Linked DNA regions of Homo sapiens: region 1 is linked to region 2. The links are contacts of gene promoters, found by promoter capture Hi-C in blood cells and fetal thymus (Javierre and others, 2016). All regions are on one chromosome and are shown on one strand. The core of a region is centred on a gene start or on the middle of the fragment in contact, and the rest is flanking DNA. Distances in the headings are between cores, read along the strand shown. Region 1 overlaps ZNF831 (zinc finger protein 831). Region 2 holds the start of NELFCD (negative elongation factor complex member C/D).

The links. The method cuts DNA at HindIII sites, captures the fragments that hold promoters and counts their contacts. A CHiCAGO score of 5 or more calls a contact.
Region 1: a contact is called between a fragment that was not itself captured here and the fragment with the promoter of NELFCD in region 2, in 1 of 17 cell types (total CD8 T cells). The highest score is 5.3, in total CD8 T cells.

Annotation. Positions count from the first base shown.
Region 1 is chr20:59,246,339-59,250,562 of GRCh38, reverse strand. The region is part of intron 4 of ZNF831 (zinc finger protein 831); the gene reads right to left. Among named protein-coding and RNA genes, the nearest start is that of EDN3, 52 kb to the left of the region's middle. The HindIII fragment of the contact is 322 bases long and covers 1,677-1,998 here.
Region 2 is chr20:58,979,056-58,983,032 of GRCh38, reverse strand. NELFCD (negative elongation factor complex member C/D) reads right to left here and starts at 1,777. Exons shown (of 15, transcript NM_198976.4): 1 at 1,664-1,777. The coding sequence starts at 1,723. RefSeq lists an enhancer at 1,019-1,519 and a silencer at 1,442-1,921. The HindIII fragment of the contact is 8,660 bases long and covers 1-3,977 here.

The DNA.
Region 1 (4,224 bases), core at 588-3,087, 270 kb before region 2:
AGGTTGGTGGCTTTCCTGAGAAATACAGCAATCTTCGCTGCTTATGTTTAGGAAATGGGCACAAAAAAGCTGACTTGGTGTTCTTTACAAGTGCAATCTGTCAACCATGGGCCCTACTGTTAGGTTATGTGGTTGCCCTGTTTCAGTGGGAACCCTGAAGTAGTTATCTGCAGGTCTCCACGTGTACTGGTCAGCTTCTACAAGAAGAGTCCTCGGGTCTCCTGACTGGAAAATAGAAGCCAGGCTGCCGGCATTCTGGAGTCAAAATTAGAGAAGAGATTCTGGGGGCTCATATGCAGTATTCACATTTGCTCAAACCCCATTTTCAATCTAGTCCCCTCACTCCCCTGCTGAACTAATTATGCCAAGTGTCCCCCAGCATTTTGTATGCTGTCCAGAGACTAAGCCCCTAGTCTTCTCCAAGGGTGAGGGAAGTTACCAAGCTCTGAGAAGTAGAAACGGAGTGGGAATGAAGTCTGATTGCTTCTTAGTCTTTCAATCAATCTTGTTTTCAGCCACACCTGGTACCATGAATGTCTGAGTTGTGGGGAGTCTTCTCACTGTTAAATCAGGATTCCATTCCTTGGGGTCAGCTACATCAGTTCCCATTCAGACTCTGCACTCCAGTTTTCAAACTGGTGGCATCATTTCTTCTCCAAGTCGTTTCTCCTTGTGAGCTTATATATTAAAAACACCTTTAATTACTAACCTCTTGTTGGTTGTTAGAGAAAAGCTGAGGTAAATAAATGTGTTCCATCCTCCATCTTAAACCAAAAGAACAGTTCCACTTCTTATATCTCAAGGGGTAAGTTACTAGATTACCAAGTGTGCTAATCCTGAGCAAATCAACTTTGAAAATCCGTAGAGAAGTGCACAGTTTGGGAAAGATAGCAATGCTTTTTTCTTCCACACAATCTTTCTTGACCCTCCCGTGTACTCAGGTAATCTAATGGCACAGAACCAGGCTTTTGGTACTCCATTCACCTGTTCAACAACCACATCCTGGGCCCCTTCAATGACCCAGGCACCATGCTCCACCTTGAAGAGTCTGAGAAGAACAAAACAAAGGTGACGCTGGCCCTCAAGAGCTTCTACTGTAATGGGGAAAGAGAAGCAAAGACAAGGAAGCAGACGCCTATTGTGATGGGGTCGCAAAGGAAATAAATCGAGGACGGGGATATTACCGAGAGTGAAAATGAGAGTATTACAGGCAGTAACAATTAACAGGAGGCTATTCCAGACACTAATGAGAAATGGAGGGGAGCATACTACAGACTCATGATAAGCAGGGGGTAGTAAAGAGAGTAATGAGGGGGCTTAATCCAAAGAGTAGCCAGGGAGGACTGTTTTATATAGTCAAGGAAGACTTCTCAGAAAGGCGACATCAGAAATGAGACCTTCAGAGTGAGAAAGAACAAGTCCACAAAGGATATTCTAGACAAAAGAAGGAACAATACAGAGACCTTAAAGGGGAAAGCAGCTTGCGGGAGCAAGAGACCCATGGGGGGCCAATGTGGAAGGACAGTCGTGAATGCAGGGGCAGGGGCAAGATGATGGTGGGGAAGTCAACAAGGACTCAGATCTTGTGGGGTACAAGTGACTGTGGTAAGAAGTTTAAATTTTGAAGCCAAACTCGGGAGAGAGGTGAGGAGAGGTGGGAAAAACAGTTACAAGCTTACTAGGATAATCCAGGGGCCAGATGAGATGGCTTGACTAGGGCACCAGAAATAGAAAGGGAAAAAAGGGGTGGATTCAAGATATGTTTTCATTCTCACCCATGAAAAATTATCAAAAATTAATGGTGATGATATGCATTTCCTTAGCCTCATCGTTCACCAAGCACAAGTGCTCACTCTAAGTGAATTAAGCTCTGTCCCCACAGTGACAAAACAACCATGCAATTCATTCAATTCAATGAAGAAGTAAAACCAATTAGTGTAGAGAAAATAATCAGATTGGCCAAATGTCTTCCCAACAGGTTGTTTTGGTTTTTAAGCTTAAGTAGAAAGGTCATGTGCACATTTGACCAATAACTTCTGACTCATCTATGAAAGTAAAGGAAGAAAATCCACTGATCTAATTTGTTTTTGACCCTGCAGTCTACAGAGAAAAGTGAATTATCTTTAATAATTGTGAAAAATGCTCAAATAATGTCACTGAAGTGTGTTAAACTGATTTGGATTATTGAGGAAGGACACTAACTTGCTTTTAAATGAATGGCCCTTTTCAAAAAGGAAGTAGTTCCCTGGCCAAATTTTAAATCACAGAATGTGATTCCATTGAGGCTTCAGCATCACACTGTATGAATCACTTCCTACATCCTCAGAAATTACAAACTCCACTGTCTTAATGCCATCTTCAGAAATTCGATCGCTCTTACACAATTATGGGACTCTTATTAGAGAGACCATCTCTCATCACAGCTCTCTGTGCCGTGCTGTTCTTTCCCTGATTAAAGGCTGTGTTTTTAATAACTTCCCTCAGAAATAATTGCCAGACTGCATTTAGAGGAAGAGGCCACTTAAAGTGTTACAGCAATTTTAAATGTGGCCATCTTGAAAAGGCTACAGGAAACTGTAAAATACTTAGAAAGAAAATGAAATAAATAAACAACATGATGAAACTTACAACATAACTGTAGACATCTTTAATGCCAAATCTTCTTCCAGCTGCCTAATGTCTAGGCCTTATTAAAATGCTATAAACGCACTGCTCAAATATCATTAACTAAAAATGTAAGTAATTTGATATATTTCTTTTGGTTTGTCCCAATACACCAAAACTCCATGAATGTGGATTCCAAAGACTGAATTATTATTTAAAAAAAGGGTTAAAAATGAGTCTATAAAATCAACCTTCTAAGCAAGCTGCAAATATAAACAAGAATATAGGAGTAATTTCCTAGACTATTAATTAATCTGTGATTAAATTGTTTAGAAGCATCCCGGGAATTAACAGATCCACAATGTGCTAGCAATTACTTATAGAAAGCTGGGCAGATCTCTAAAAGTAATAACTTTGTGGACAGTTATTTATTCAAATATTTTTAAGCCTGTTTTCGAGCCTATGTTATTGAGCCTAAATATTTACTGAGCACCAAGCACAACCAACAACCGTGCCAAGAACTGTGCTAAACACAGGGCATTTGTTCTGTGGAAAACGAGGCAGACACACCCACATGATAATTATAGTTCAACGGGGGAGAAATTCAGTAAGCAAATAATTATATAAAAAATTCACCAAGCAAATATAGTAAATAGCATGAAAGAAAAAGCACGAAGGTGCTGGGTGGCCATGAAATAGGACCCCAACCCAACCTGTATCTATGGAAAAGAGCAAAACTATGCACACAGTAAATCATCTGACATCACCCCTGTCCTGGATGGCTTTCTAAGTCTGAATCATCTATACATGTAATTATTCAACCAATTTTCTTTAAGTCTCTGTTGCATACCTGACGTTATGCTAAAGTTTCTTTGACAGTAAATTCATTTGTTTCTGCAATCCTATTACATTTTTTGTTTATGAAGCCTCTTTACGAAAAAAATGGCTAAAAATGATGGAAGAAAGAGGTTTTATTCCTCTCAGGCAGAGAGAATGGGAGACGTTGGATGTCAATGCCAATCAAAAAATAATCAGAAGTCAGTGGGCGGTGAGCAGTGAGAAGCAGCTCCGACTTCAGCTGCACAGGCAGGGAGGGTTGGGGGAGAGGACCAGAAAGATGGATTTATCAAGTACAGCCTCGGGTATTTCTGCACTATCCTAATGCAATCTTTTGAAAGTTTGCCTCTAAGTAATCATAAACTAATCTTTTACTTCAACAACCATTTTTCTTAGTAATTTTCATCTCTTTTCTATTTCTCTGATGAAAGGCAATCAAGATAACCACCCTCCCCTCACAGAAATCCTGAATTCAGTGCAAAGCGGTGTTTAAAATTTTGCTTTAAAAATTCTGTCATGTCCAGACATCAAGTGTGTGCCCTTAAAATACAGAGTGAAAATAGGATTATGAAATTAGAGAAGGAAAAAAGACAATAAAAAAGAAAATGCCATTTGAAAGATTGAAAGCCAAAACAGAAACTGGCTGATATACTTTGTGTAACATTCTTTTAAAAGTTTCTTGTTGCTAAATGAAAATTGTCTATGTGGGTCTCTTCCCTGGGACATTATCGATATACCTGAAACAGCTTCTCATCTTTCCTCAAGATTTACACCCTAGAATGA
Region 2 (3,977 bases), core at 528-3,027:
AGTGGCAACGGAGGCAAAGGATGTGGGTTTGGGTCCCCTCTCCTTCCTTTATTAGTTTCATGACCTTGGGCAGGTCAGTAAGTCTTTTCGTCTCATTTTCTACACTTACCAGATAAGTAGGGTAACACCCAACTCAAAATCCTGTGTGTGGAAGGGGATAACGCATGACACACATGGCCCAAGCTCTCAGTTAGCTAAGTCTGACTCTATCCACTCCACCCTAAGCCTCCAACACTGTGAAATGATCCAACATGCAAATCTACTCGTGTCACTCCCTGCCCCAAACTCCTGAACAAGCCATACCATTCAGCAGCTCTCCAAGGATCTTCAGAACCTGCTCCCTACTGACCTCCTGCCACTGCTTCCACCAGGCAGCTAACATCACAGGGCTTCTTTCAGTTCCAGAAACACATCGCCCGCCTTGGCATTTTAGACCATGGCTCCGAAGCCGCCATCACACCACCACCCATGTTTATCAACGTAAGCCCCACTTCATCCTTTATTCCCTTATAATACCACTTCAAAATGCACCAGACATCCCCAATCTTGATTGTTGTTAAAAATGCAAGTTCCTGGGCCACGAGCAGTGGCTCACGCCTGTAATCCCAGTACTTTGGGAGGCAGAGGTGGGTGGATCACCTGAGGTCAAGAGTTTGAGACCAGCCTGGCCAACAAGGTGAAACCCCCTCTCTACTCAAAATTTTAAAAATTAGCTGGGCATGGTGGTGGGTGCCTGTAATCCCAGCTATTCGGGAGGCTGAGGCAGGAGAATCGCTTGAATCCGAGAGGCAGACGTTGCAGTGAGCCGCGATGGCGCCATTACACTCCAGCCTGGGCAACAAGAGCGAAACTCCACCACAAAAAAAAAAAAAAAAAAAAAAAAAAAAAAAAATGCAAGTTCCCAGGCTCCCGTCCAGACCAACTGTTGGGCCGTCTCCAGGGGAGGGACGTGAGAAGCTACATTTCAATCATGCGCCTCAGTTGGGTCTTTAGAGTAAGGTGGGGACACACTGTCCAGACTAGAGCTACCTGCCCTGGCTCTGCAGTCCCTGTCCTCAGGGTGGAACAGTGATCCCTCCTGGGCTTCCACCCCAAACCCTGGAAGGTCAAGGCCCGAAAATCCTTTCCATCAGTTTGCCCAAAAACAGATGAAATCAGCCCAAGGTGCTGAAGAGTACAGTTTATAAAACAGTAAAGCACATGTAGGAATGCCCTAAGTTCTACTTTTTCCTCATGATGCTGCTGTGAAGTTTTTCCACTTTATTTTTGTTTAAAAGTCTGTGAGCTCCGGACCCAACCCTCCACCTTAGCGTTGGTGTCCCGCCCGCCGCGGGGGTCGCAGGGCCGGCGCCGGGCCTGGCCGGAGCGAGGGGGTACTGGGGGCCTCGGGCCGCCCCGCGCCAGAGCCTCCGGCGCCTCACCCCCACCCCAAGGTCCTGCAGGCGAGGAGGCGGGGACCCCGGCGGCCGCGCCGCGGGACCCCGGGCGGGCGGGGGCGGGGCGGGCTGTGCTTGAACCACACGGTGACCGCGCGGGCCGTGCGCGCGCACACCCCCCGCACGCCCGCAGCCTCGCGCCGCGCGGCCTCTCCGGGAGTGGGGCCGGCCCGCCGGCGGCGGAGACGAACGATTCTCTCTAGGGTGCGCCCAGTGCCCCGCCTCACCTGGCCGCCGTCAGCCTCGTCGCCCCACTCGGCCGCGCTCCCGTAGTAGTCCTCGTCCATGATGGCGCCCGGCACGGCCCCCGCCATGCCCTCCCGCGAGCGAGCGCGGCGCATGCGCGAGGCGGGGACGGGCGGGCGGGCGCACGCGCGGCCGCGCGCCTCGGCCCGGGCGGGAGGCGGGGCCTGGAAGAAGGGGCGGGGCCTGGAGGAAGGGCAGGGCCGCGGGCTCGGCACTGGGAACAAAGGGGACCGGCGGAAGGAACGCCCCCAGTCGATCCCGGAGCGATGCCCGGGTGGACCAGGGGCTTAGCTCCGGAGAGAGGTTTCCCACTGGATTCGTGCACAGCCCCTCCCCTGCGGCGCCGGCTCTGCGAGCCCCAGTTTCCTCATCTGGCAGCTGGAAACAAATCCTTCCGGAAGTGTCCAGGACCCACGAAAGTGTTTTAATTTCTTTTAGTTTTGGTAAAAAGTACTAAACGCGACCGGGCGTGGGGGCTCACGCCTGTAATCCCAGCACTTTGGGAGACCGAGGCTGACGGATCACTTGAGGTCAGGAGTTCGAGGCCAGTCTGGCCAACATGGTGAAACCCCGTCTCTGCTCAAAATACAAAAATTAGCCGGGCGTGGTGGCATGCGCCTGTAATCCCAGGTACTCGGGTGACTGAGGCAGGAGAATCGCTTGAACCCGGGAGGCGGAGGTTGCAGTGAGCCAAGATCGCACCATTGCACTCCAGCCTGAGCGACAGAGCGAGACCCTATCTCAAATAAATAAATACATACATAAAAAGGGCAGGGCACGGTGGCTCACGCCTGTAATCCCAACACTTTGGGAGGCCGAGGCGGGCGGATCACCTGAGGTCAGGAGTTCGAGACCAGCCTGGTCAACATGGTAAAACCCCTTCTCTACTAATAACACAAAAATTAGCTGGGCATGGTGGCGGGCGCCTGTAGTCTCAGCTACTCAAGAGGCTGAGTCACGAGAACCGCTTGAACCCAGGAGGTGGAGGTTGCAGTGAGCCAAGATCACACCACCGCACTCCAGCCTAGGCAACAGAGTGAAACTGTGTCAAAAAAAAAAAAAAAAAGAAAAAGAAAAAGAAAGAAAGAAGAAAGAAAGAAAAGAAAAGAAAAAAGAAAAGAGAAGAAAAAGTACTGAATGCAGTGGAAAGTAGCATTTTTAATTTTTTATAAAGTGGAAGATAGGCCCACAAAGCAAAAGTGCCCAGAGCTGACAAAAATCTCTGGAGAAAGGACCTCTCTGGTCGTTGCCAAAGGGAGCAGCTGACGCTGTTGTAAAGCCCGCAGCTCGATTCCCAGCGTGAAGTAGGGGGTGAGAATATGACAGCCTCCTGATGATCACGGAAAGGTTTTTGTTTGGTTGTTGTGTTTTTGTTTTGTTTTAATTTTAGATTCGGTGCGTGTGCAGGTTTGTTACATTGGTATATTGCGTGATGCTTCTAATCCTTTCGGCAACTTTTTCAGCCTTTACCCCCCTCCACACCTTCTGCCTTTTGGAATACCCCATGTCTGTTGTTCCCATCTTTGTGTCCAAATCACAGAAAATTTTAAACAGGGAGATTAACGCCATAAAATCTGGATGCTTTGAAAGGTAACGCCCGTGGCTGAGCGCCGCGGCTCACACCTGTAATCCCAGCACTTTGGGAGGCCAAGGTGGGAGGATTGCTTGAGGCAAGAGTTTGAGACCAACCTGGGCAACATAGCGAGACACCGCCCCCCCCCTTCCCCCGCCCCCAGCCAGGTATGGTGATGCACGCCTGTAGTCCTAGCTGCTCGGGAGGCTGAGGCAGGAGGATTGCTTCAGCCCAGGAGTTTGAGGTTACAGTTTGCTATGGTCGTGCCATTGCATTTCAGCCTGTGTGACAAAGTGAGACCCTGTCTATAAAGAAAAAAAAGAAAGGTAATGCCCATGTCAGTAAGGAAAGAGTATTAGAGAAAAGAGCTCCAGAAGATTGATAATAGTGACTACTTTTGGAGAACTTATCAGGGAATATGTCTTCATTTATTCAACAAATGTTTATTGAGTGTTCCCTAAGTGCCCAGCACTGCGCTGCTCCCTGGAGCTCGGTGAACAAGTTGGACCTGATCCTTGTCCGGGTAGAGCCTACATTCTACTGAAGGAGCTGAATGGGGGGAGGGGGTGGGGGGAACAAATAAGATAAAGACAGAAGGTGATCAGTGCTAGTATTCTGTGATAATAGAATCTTCTTGGGGAGATCAGAGATGGCTGCTGAGCAGCTTACATTTGAACTGAGTCATGTCATGAAAGGGGCAAGCTAGCTAAGACCCAGGCAAG